Linked DNA regions of Homo sapiens: region 1 is linked to region 2. The links are contacts of gene promoters, found by promoter capture Hi-C in blood cells and fetal thymus (Javierre and others, 2016). All regions are on one chromosome and are shown on one strand. The core of a region is centred on a gene start or on the middle of the fragment in contact, and the rest is flanking DNA. Distances in the headings are between cores, read along the strand shown. Region 1 overlaps CBL (Cbl proto-oncogene). Region 2 holds the start of RPS25 (ribosomal protein S25).

Region 1 (5,716 bases), core at 2,760-5,259, 270 kb after region 2:
GTATTTCAACTGTGATAGAGGGGAGGTTATAATTAACAGAGGGGCTTATGGGAATATCACAGTGATAATGGTATTTTGTTTTTTAGCTGGATGGTAGGTAAGTATATGGATGTTTTATTCCTTGTACTTTATAGTTCATTATATATTTTGTATGAGTAAAATAATTTGAGTGAAAATATTTAACTTTTGGTTAGTTATTAAAGTTTATCCCCCTTTTTTGGTCTTGAAATCACTCTTGAAGGTATGGAAAAGAATGAGAATGCCTGTTTCTTCACATCCTGGTAGATGTTGTTTGTTGTTTTATTTTGATTTTTTTTAATATACTGAATCTACTTATAGTTGGTGAATGCACATGGATTTTTTTTAAGGTTTAAAAGAATTGCTAAAAAAAACTTACAAAAACATTGGTTCCCTGCCTCTGCCCCCTCCAGCACCTCTCTGTCCCCTCGTTCAGAGTTTTAATTCTTGAAACTGTTTACTACCTCTGTGTTTCTTAACCATGTGCTTATACTGCTTTTTCTGGATTCTTGATCTCTTCACCTCAGATGTTGTGGGAGAGGGTTTAGGTCTCTTATATCTCCCTCCTCCCTACTCCATATCCTCCCACTACAGTTATTTGAATTTGGCTTAGTACTAGTGTTTACATGATTTCACTCCTTACTGTGCCAAGTAACATACTATACAATAATTACTTTTGCTTTCTTATACAACTTTCTGCTTTTCCTGGTATAATTATTTTTATTTTCTTAGTTTTCAGTTTGTACCTGTCACTACCAAATCATATCATACTCTCAAACATCCTCTCAATATAGTTTCTATGAAATAAAATCTGTTAGTATAGTAGTATGTGATACCGTGTACTGCTTTGTAGGAAATAGGAGTCATCTGTGTTCCGCTCCAGTCTGCTCCAGTTACTCCTGTGCCACACTACTTGTCACCCTGAGGTGTCCCCTCGCCATCCTCATGGGACTTCATTGCCTCTCCTCTGTTGGAGTACCTTGGTTCCCATGTTTTCCTCTTTTTTGCTTCTTTGTTTATGTCCTTAAAGTAGCTTTCTGTGAAAGGGTGAGAGATAAACTTCTTGAGATCTTTGGTATCTTAAAATGCCTTTATTCAACCCTCAAACGTGAATTGACTAGTTACAGAATTCTAGATTAATAAATATTCTGCTCTAAATTGTTAAGGCTTCACTGACTTCTAGCTTCTAATGTATTTTTGCTTTTCAGCGCTTCCTTTCCCTCTGTCACCAAAAGCCTTTTTTTTTTTTTTTTTTGAGACAGAATCTTGCTCTGTCACCCAGGCTGGAGTGCAGTGGTGCAATCTCGGCTCACTGCAACCTCTGCCTCCCGGGTTCACACCATTCTCCTGCCTCAGCCTCCTGAGTAGCTGGGACTACAGGCGCCTGCCACCACGCCTGGCTAATTTTTTTTTGTATTTTTAGTAGAAACAGGGTTTCACCATGTTAGCCAGGATGGTCTTGATCTCCTGACCTTGTGATCCGCCTGCCTCGGCCTCCCACAGTGCTGGGATTACAGGTGTGAGCCACTGCACCTGGCCCACCAGAAGCTTTTAAGATATTTTCCTCATCCTTGATTTGATGAAAATTGTAAGGGTATTTTTGGTTTGTTTGTTGTGGGTTTCCTTTCTTTCATTGAGCTAGGTATGTAATAAACCCTTTCTATTTGGATATTTATGTCCTTTAAGTCTTGAAGTCTTGGAAATGTTTGTATTTCTCTGATCACTTATTTTCCATTTATAAATTTATAAAGGTTCCACCTTTTCTGGAGCCTTATATGCTATGATAAAAGAATATTGCGGCCGGGTGCGGTGGCTCATGCGTGTAATCCCAGCACTTTGGGAGGCCGAAGCGGGCAGATCACCTGAGATCAGAAGTTCCATACCAGCCTGGCCAGTGTGGTGAAACCCTGTCTCTACTAAAAATACGAAAATTAGCCAGGCATGGTGGCGCATGCCTATAATCCCAGTTACTTGGGAGGCTGAGGCCAGAGAATGGCTTGAACCTGGGAGGCAGAGGTTGCAGCGAGCTGAGATCGCACTATTTCACTCCAGCCTGGGCAACAAGAGTGAGACTCCATCTCAAAAAAAAAAAAAAAGACTATTGCAAGGATCCATTATGATGTTGAGACATGAATGTAAAAATATGATTAGTTCAACCCTCTGTGCCTAAGGAATGAGAGAAAGATTGATGATCGGCAGAGAGGGCCTTCCAGAATGGGGAAAGGATTTAAAGAATGATACGGAAGTCGAAATAATCATTAGAATGTGCAGGAAACACTGAGGAGATGAGCCTGAATAGAGCAGCGTTGATGCTTGTTAGGGAGTTGTGGGAAATACCTTTCTTTGGTTGCAGAGACCAGATTAGAAAGACTTGTGAAAGCTGGGCAGGAGGGTGAGATTTTGTAACAGGGCAAATTGGGAGTTACTGGTGGTTTTTGAGTTGGTGAGTGTTTAAGAATGGCTAAGCTGATAGTGGTAAGCAGAAGGATGTGGTGAGATAAACTACAAGTTGGGAAGTTCACTAGGTTGTTTTAATAAATCACGGCCACCCGCGGTGGCTCACGCCTGTAATGCCAGCCCTTTGGGAGGCCAAGGCAAGGAGGATCACTTTAGCCCAGAGGTTTGAGTCCACCCTGGGCAACATGACAAGACCCCGTCTACCCGTGCCTTCCCCGCGCCCCAAAAAAAAAAAAGCCACATGTGGTGGCGCACAGCTTGTCCCAGCTACTTGAGAGGCTGAGGCAGGAGGATGGCTTGAGCCCAGGAGGTCAAGGCTGCAGTGCACCATGTTTGTGCCACTGCAGTCCAGCCTGGGCTACAGAGCAAGACCCTGTCTCCCATAAATAAGTAAGGTCTGGGGTTGGTAAGTAGAATGAAATGAAATATACAGGTATGAGAATCTTTTAGGGAAAAATCAGCAGGATATAGCTACTGACAAAATAATTATGATGAAGTGAGAGGAGGCTTGACTAGTAACTTTGACTTTTGTCATTGAGCTGTTTAGCTGCTCATGCTGCATTGTCAGCTAATTGGGAACCCGTTATCTTAAGCATGTGGATAAAGCAAAGAGTTAAAGATGAGAGCTTTTCTGTCATCCACCACCCAGCACTAATAACATGACTAAATATGGCTGTTTTTCTGTCAGTGTTGCTTTGCTGTTGGGGAATTTAAATGCAGAGTAGCATTTTTTTTTTAATGAATTACTGTGTATCTCTTGACAGCTTACTTTGACAAGCTTATCAGCTATTCCTAAGCCTGCTATAGGCAGGGAAATGGAAAAGGTTATATATGTGTTCTTTCTTCTAATTTGGTACCTCATTTTTTAGAGCTCAAATTGACAGAAAATATTAATCCTTTTTAATTCTTTCTTTTTTTTTTTTTTTTTTTTTTTTTTTTTTGAGATGGAGTCTTGCTCTTTTGCCCAGGCTGGAGTGCAGTGGCGCTATCTCGGCTCACTGCAAGCTCCGCCTCCCGGGTTCATGCCATTCTCCTGCCTCAGCCTCCTGAATAGCTGGGACTACAGGCGCCCGCCACCACACCTGGCTAATTTTTTGTATTTTTAGTAGAGACGGGGTTTCACCGTGTTAGCCAAGATGGTCTCGATCTCCTGACCTCGTGATCCACCCGCCTCAGCCTCCCAAAGTGCTGCGATTACAGGCGTGAGCCACCACGCCTGGCCTTAATTATTGAATTGAAATAATTTATTTCTTTGGAAGGACTCAAGATGCTTTTTAGTGATATTCTTGATCATTTTTCTTTACAAATTCACCTTAAAAAAATTTTTAGTTAAAATTTTTTAGAGGGATCTCACTATGTTGACAAGGCTGGTCTTGAACTCCTGGCCTCAAGCAATCCTCCTGCCTCCCCAAATGCAGGATTACAGGTGTGAGCCACTGTACCGACTCTCATCTTCTTTCTTACCTTAATAACCCATAGAGAATTCACCGTCATCGATCTCTTTCTTTATTATGTCCCTTAAACATTGTTTTCCCAGGTACTTTGTTAAGAGGTTAATATCTGCACCCCCCGCCCCACTGCCATCCTTTTTTTTTATTTTATTTTTGTCGAGACAGGCTCTTGCTCTGTTGCCCAGGCTGGAGTACAGTGGCTAGATTATGGTTCACTGCAGTCTCAAACTCCTAGGCTCAAGCAGTCTTCCTGTTTTAGCCTCCCAAATAGCTGTGTGCCACCATGGCCCAGCTAATTTTTTATTTTATTTTTTGTAGAGATGGGGTCTCATTATGTTGCCCATACTGGTCTCGAACTCCTGCCTCCCAAAATGTTAGTATTACAGGTGTGGGCCACTGTGCATGGCCTGCCCCTTACTTTTTATATGGATTCCTATTTTTAATCTTGAAAAGATTTTTTTCTTTCTCCAAAGATGAGGGGGTAGAAAACTGTTGTAATTTTTAAAGTTGTAAACTAGGAAACTTTTTGTAGCCCTGTCCTTTCTAGATAGATTACCTGTAGCTTGCCATGGGTATGGTGTTTCTGTGATTGAGAGTGCCCTCTTATGGTGACACAAAAATTATTCAGGAAGTGCTAGAGTCTCTGGAAGTTTTTTAAGAGGGTGTGTGCGACCTCAAACCTAGGTCTGGCCCATTTGTAGTTTAAGTGTTCCCATGGTATTTGCCATCCACAGCTTTAGGAGAGTTGAAAGATGCCATTTCCCCAAACGAAAGTAATCTGTTAAATTTTTTATGTACCCTAGGTGGAACGGCCGCCTTCTCCATTCTCCATGGCCCCACAAGCTTCCCTTCCCCCGGTGCCACCACGACTTGACCTTCTGCCGCAGCGAGTATGTGTTCCCTCAAGTGCTTCTGCTCTTGGAACTGCTTCTAAGGTAAAGCATTTTCCATTACTGCAGTTTTTGGATTCTTTGCTGTGTACTAGTGGGTTTTTACTGATTTGCTTTCACCCTGCTTCCACAGGCTGCTTCTGGCTCCCTTCATAAAGACAAACCATTGCCAGTACCTCCCACACTTCGAGATCTTCCACCACCACCGCCTCCAGACCGGCCATATTCTGTTGGAGCAGAATCCCGACCTCAAAGACGCCCCTTGCCTTGTACACCAGGCGACTGTCCCTCCAGAGACAAACTGCCCCCTGTCCCCTCTAGCCGCCTTGGAGACTCATGGCTGCCCCGGCCAATCCCCAAAGTACCAGTATCTGCCCCAAGTTCCAGTGATCCCTGGACAGGAAGAGAATTAACCAACCGGCACTCACTTCCATTTTCATTGCCCTCACAAATGGAGCCCAGACCAGATGTGCCTAGGCTCGGAAGCACGTTCAGTCTGGATACCTCCATGGTGAGTCTTAATTTTGAAACTATCTAACCTGTTAAGAAATATGTGTGGGCCAGGCACAGTGGCTCATGTCTGTAATCCCAGCAATTTGGGAGGCCAAGGTGGGTGGATCGCTTGAGCCGAGGATTTCGAGACCAGCCTGGGGGACGTAGTGAAACCCTGTCTCTACAAAAATTACAAAAATTAGCTGGGCGTGGTGGCACTTGCCTGTAATTCCAGCTACTCGGGAGGCTGAGGTGGGAATATTGCTTGGGCCCAGGAGGCCAAGCTTTCAGTGAGCCATGATGGCGCCACTGCACTCCAGCCTAGGCAATAGAGTAAGACCCTGTCTTGAAAAAAAAGAAGAAAGAAAAAGAAATATGTGTGGATAGAAGTTTATGGGTTGAAATTTT
Region 2 (5,632 bases), core at 3,100-5,599:
GGCAGTGTAGAAAAACCAAACCTTCATACACTGCTCTTAGAATGTAAACTGGTACAGTCACTTTGGAAAACAGTTTGGGATACACCTACCACATTATCCAACCGTTCCACCCCTAACTAGAGAAAAGAAAGCCTGTCTACATAGACTTGTACACAAATCTTCAGAACAGCTTCACTTGTAGCAGCTCCAAATTGGAAACAATTCAGATGTCTATCAACAGGCAAATGGATTAACAATGGAATAGTATTCCAGGATGAAGACAGAATTATTGATACGTACGACACAGATGAATCTCAGAAGTCCAGACCTGGCCGGCGTGGTGGCTCATGCCTGTAATCCCGACACTTTGGGAGGCCAAGGCAGGCGGATCACGAGGTCAGGAGTTCAAGACCAGTTTGGCCAACATGGTGAAACCCCATCTCTACTAAAAATTCAAAAATTAGCTGGGCATCGCAGCGCACGCCTGTAATCCCAGCTACTTGGGAGGCTGAGGCAGAATTGTTTGAACCGAGACCTGGGAGGCGGAGGTTGCAGTGAGCTGAGATTGTGTCCAGCCTGGGCTAGAGCGAGACTCCTCTCAAAAAAACAAAAGGCCAGACCCCACCTCAATGTCCACACACAGAAAATCCTAAAAAATACAAACCAATAAAGCAACTGAAAGATCACCGATTGCCTGGACATGAAAATATTTTAATGGGGGCAGTGATACTTACAGGGGGATGTTTGGGGTCTAGATTGTAATGGCTTCGCTCAAAAGTCACCAAATTTAAGTGTGTATCGTTTATGTCAGTTGTGCCTCAAAGCCATTTTAAAATGACTGTCACATATGGGGTATGTCGCTTTAAATTAGCCTAGGGCCTTCTAAAGCTCCAGAATTCCTGGGCTTTGCTTTTAGACATTTCTAGCTCTTAATGAGGAGAGGTAAGCTAACAGCTAGGACATGTTTCACAATAGCCTGAAGACTTAAAAAAAAAAAAAAAAGCCTTAATTTTTTTTTCAGGTGCCACACCTCCCTGGATGATCCAAGATGAAGAATACATTGCTGGGAACCAAGAAATAGGACCATCCTATGAAGAATTTCTTAAAGAAAGTAAGTAAACTAATTCAAGAGAGGATCGTCTAAATCTTCACACTCAAAAATGGTTTCCTTGCCTGTGTGTGGTGGCTCATGGCTATAATCCTAGCATTTTGGGAGGCTGAGGTGGGAGGGTCACTTGAGCCCAGAAGTTTGAAAACAGCCTGGACAACATAGTGAGACCCCATCTCTATATTCTTCAATAAAGAAAAATAAAAGTTTCCCTATCATTGTACAGAGGAAAAACAGAAGTTGAAAAAACTCCCCCCAGACCGAGTTGGGGCCAACTTTGATCACAGCTCCAGGACCAGTGCAGGCTGGCTGCCCTCTTTTGGCCGCGTCTGGAATAATGGACGCCGCTGGCAGTCCAGGTATGTGTGTTCAGTGCCGGGTCTCCAACCTACCCATCCAACCTCCTTTTTGGAGATGTCACCCTTCATCATCGTGTTAACCCTTTATTTCCTTTCAGACATCAATTCAAAACTGAAGCTGCAGCAATGAAGAAGCAGTCACATACAGAAAAAAGCTAATCATGCTCTCTACCAACTACCATGAGGCTAAAAGCAAAGTCAACAAACCCCTATTATACCTTCCACCAAATTCTTTATCATTGTCTTTCTTAGGAAACAGACATACTCATTCATTTGATTTAATAAAGTTTTATTTTTCCAAATGTACAGCTGGTTGGACCTGTAAAAAAAAATTAAAAGAATCAGAACCATAAAGCTTTGTATCTACCTCCTACACCATGAGCCCACACATTCCTACTCACCTATTCATGCATCTTCACCAGCAGCTGGAGCATCTCCACCCTTGGTATTTCTGGTGTAAATTACTTGAGCTCTGTGCTTTGAAACCAGTTTGATAAGTCCTAGGGGGAGAGAATAGCACGATGAGATGCTTAACAGATGCTACAATAGAAACTAGTAAGGTTTTTGGCTGGGCGCGGTGGCTCATGCTTATAATCCCACTGCTTTGGGAGGTGGAGACGGGCAGATAGCTTGAGGTAAGGAGTTGCACACCAGCCTGGCCAACAAGGTGAAACCCCATCTCTACCAAAAATACAAAAATTAGCTGGGCATGGTGGCACATGCTTGTAATTCCAGCTACTTGGGAAGCTGAGGTGAGGACCACCTGAACCCAGGAATTGGTGGTTGCATTGAGCCAAGACTGCCCCTCCGCACTCCAACCTGGGCAACAGAATGAGACTCTAGTAAGGTTTGTTTTGGCCGGGTGCAGAGGCTCATGCCTGTAATCCCAGCACTTTGGACAGGTGGATCTCTTGAGCCCAGGAGACCAGCCTGGGCAACATGGCAAAACCGCATCTCTATTTAAAGAAAAGGAAAACAAAAAGACAGAGTTCTCTCAGAGGTGCCCAGAATGGTCTTAAAACTCCTTGGCTCAAATGATCCTCCTGCTTTGGCCTCCCAAGTAGCTAGAAATACAAGGGTACCACTGCACCTGGCTCCAGAATTGCTTAATCTGACGTTCGGTAACCGAGAATCCTAGTTTTTAACGATCATCTATCCTTACTTTTCCTTTAAATTAGGGCTCCATTATCTTCCACCCCCCCCCCCTTTCTGAGACAGTCTTTTGCTGTCACTAAGGCTGGAGTGCAGTGGTGTCATCTCGGCTCACTGCCACCTCCATCTCCTGGGTTCAAGGGATCCTCATGCCTCAGCATCCTGAGTAGCTGGGATTACAGACGTGTGCCCCCACGTCCAGCTAACTTTCAGTAGAGCAGGTTTTCACCATATTGGCCAGGCTGGTCTTTAACTCCTGACCTCCGTTGATTCACCCGCCTTGGCCTCCCAAAGTGCTAGAATTATAGACGTTCAGTCACTATAGTTAGCTGAGCCTTATTATTGTGGAATTATGGTAATCAGACCATACTACTGAGTAGACCGTACTAAATTTCTGGTTTTAAAATTTAATACATCAACAAAATATTTACCATAAAGGTTTTAAACATTTTCAAAGTTGTTTCAAAATAGTAATCTAATTATTTCAAAAACGGTTGTCCCTGTAATTCTATGCATCCATTTACTCGAAACATAAAAGATCCTTGGGCTTCACTAAACTGCCACAGGGTCCACGGCACAAAAGTGGCTAAGAACCCTGAGAATTCATCTCAGGATCAGGAGTAAGACGTCAGAATTACATTACTAACAGCCAATGGTCAAGCCACGCTTTTTTTTTTTAATTCTGCTTTTCCAGCAAAACCACTGAAGATGCTTAACATGGTCAAGACAATTTAACCTACAAAAACACACATGTAGGATACACCCCTCACCTTTACTAAGGAGCTCCTGAAGGGCTGCCCTGGCCAGGGAGCCTCGAATCTTCAGTCTCTCAGAGACCACAGCTGGGGTTATAAGTTTATAGTTGGGAACTTCCTTACAGAGTTTATCATAGGTAGCTTTGTCAAACAAGACTAAGTTATTGAGCTTGTCCCGAACTTTGCCTTTGGACCACTTCTGCTCACCAAAACAAAACAGAAACAAGTTAGTATTTCTGGCAGAAGCACCCTTTCCCTCTCGAGTAATCTGCGTCAGAGAAATCTGTTCCACCGTTATCAAGGATAAATTACACATTACTAAAACAAAAACAAAAAAAAAACACCGACACGTTTTTGGCCTTCAAACAGGGGCCGAGCCCCACTAGATCAGTTAAAAATAACACAGCAGGCACAGCGGCAGACACTTCGCACAACAGACCCATTTTCATGATCCTAATGGGAAAAAGAACGAGTGGTGACGGGAAGATAAACTCTCACATTTTGACTCTAGAAATCTACACCTGAAAAACCACTTACTATACAAGTTACCTATTACTAGAGGATTACGAGAGAGTTACCCCTAGTCTCTTTCAGAGAGGTCTTATTTCTACCTTCTTTTTGGCCTTGCCCCCGGATTTGTTCACTGGGTCTTTGTCTTTCTTGGCCGACTTTCCAGCGTCCTTCTTCTTCTTGTCGTCCTTAGGCGGCTGTAGGAGGGCAGCGGGAATGCAACCAGGTCCTCAAATAGCGCCAAAGTCCCCTAATACTGCGCCCTCAGCCCCCGCAAACTCCACCACCAGAGCACATGGGCCAAGCAATAACCGCGCCCGCCCTGCAACCGAGGCCGGCAGGCCAAGGAGCGCTCCCGCCGAAGGCTCTCCCCACTGAGTCCTCAAACCCAAGAACGCCGGCGACTTCACACCCCTGAAGCTTACCATTGCGAAGCTCGGAGAATAGCAGCAGACACCGCAGCCTCGTCAAGATGTCGGACAAAAAGGAAGCGCTGCTCAGAAACGGGCCCAAAAACCACCGTCCGCTGTGAGTACTTCCGGGGCAAAAGGCGGAGCCAGGCAGAAGAAGTCCCACGGCGAAGCGCTCGCCCTCTAGCCTGAGGCGGAAGACAGGAAGTGGATTCTAGTTCCCAAGCCGCACCGCCTAAATACTGCCGGAGTCTGCGCTAGTTGTGACGCATACTATAGCGCTGTTTTCCTGCACTGATAAACGAAAAGCAATCCACCAGGTCTCGGCAGCTAACTTTCCGGCACTACTTATGCCCGAGCGTGTCGCTCCCAGTGCGCAAGTGCAGCAGGTGGCTGCACGGGGGGCGCGGGAGGAGGAGGAGGAGGAGGAGGAGGCTGGGGTGGGGCCGGCGGCAAGTGCTGTGATGCGGTTCCGGGGAGGGGCCGTCGGGTAGAGGCTGAATACCAGTTTCCGAGCGGCAAGGCAGCGATGGCGATTTTTAGTGTGTATGTGGTGAACAAAGCTGGCGGCTTGATTTACCAGTTGGACAGCTACGCGCCACGGGCTGAGGCTGAGAAAACTTTCAGTTATCCGCTGGATCTGCTGCTCAAGCTACACGATGAGCGTGTGTTGGTTGCTTTCGGCCAGCGGGACGGCATCCGAGGTGGGCTAGGCTCGGGCCCGTGGCGGGTGCGGGGGTGGGAGGGCCCCAGTGCTGTAGAAGTGGGCTGGTTGTAGGTGCGGGGTTGGGGGAAAAGGGGTTGTGTCGGGTCCCTTGTCCCCTCGGCGGAATCCCCGGGCTGCACCTTCGCTGACCGTTAGCTTCACCTCTGCAGTGGGTCATGCAGTGCTGGCCATCAATGGCATGGACGTGAATGGCAGGTACACGGCCGACGGGAAAGAGGTGCTGGAGTATCTGGGTAACCCTGCTAATTACCCGGTGTCCATTCGATTTGGCCGGCCCCGCCTCACTTCTAATGAGAAGCTTATGCTGGCCTCCATGTTCCACTCGTAAGTCCCCCGTCTCCTGAACGGCAGCGCTTGTAATTTGTCTACCTTTTCTTAAATCGTCGTTCTGGTGTTATGAAAAACGCAACCGATCCAGATCTAGATTTTAGGTAATAACGGCAGTGGTGTCATCTTTTTTTGCTGGGTGGGGAGGGGCCGCGGAGTTACCCAGGCTGGAGCGCAGTGGCGGGATCTCGGCTCACTGCAGCCTCTGCCTCCCAGGTTCAAGCGATTCTCCTGCCTCAGCCTCCCGAGTAGCTGGGATTACAGGCGCGTGCCACCACGACCAGCTAATTTTTGTATTTTTAGTA

Evidence for each region. The method cuts DNA at HindIII sites, captures the fragments that hold promoters and counts their contacts. A CHiCAGO score of 5 or more calls a contact.
Region 1: a fragment that was not itself captured here is called in contact with the fragment with the promoter of RPS25 in region 2 in 2 of 17 cell types (naive CD8 T cells and naive B cells); the score reaches 5.7 in naive CD8 T cells.

What each region holds. Positions count from the first base shown.
Region 1 is chr11:119,280,240-119,285,955 of GRCh38, forward strand. CBL (Cbl proto-oncogene) reads left to right here. Exons shown (of 16, transcript NM_005188.4): 10 at 4,730-4,861; 11 at 4,950-5,327. Among named protein-coding and RNA genes, the nearest start is that of MIR6756, 30 kb to the right of the region's middle. The HindIII fragment of the contact is 1,516 bases long and covers 3,252-4,767 here.
Region 2 is chr11:119,013,994-119,019,625 of GRCh38, forward strand. RPS25 (ribosomal protein S25) reads right to left here and starts at 4,350. Exons shown (of 5, transcript NM_001028.3): 1 at 4,289-4,350; 2 at 3,965-4,060; 3 at 3,369-3,552; 4 at 1,848-1,946; 5 at 1,724-1,765. The coding sequence starts at 4,291. The coding sequence ends at 1,852. It overlaps TRAPPC4 (trafficking protein particle complex subunit 4), which reads left to right and starts at 4,773. Exons shown (of 5, transcript NM_016146.6): 1 at 4,773-4,977; 2 at 5,150-5,324. The coding sequence starts at 4,803. It overlaps CENATAC (centrosomal AT-AC splicing factor), which reads left to right. Exons shown (of 11, transcript NM_198489.3): 9 at 1,001-1,090; 10 at 1,314-1,446; 11 at 1,545-1,800. The coding sequence ends at 1,605. RefSeq lists enhancers at 4,072-4,141, 4,162-4,391, 4,646-5,344 and a silencer at 4,632-4,751. The HindIII fragment of the contact is 1,015 bases long and covers 4,282-5,296 here.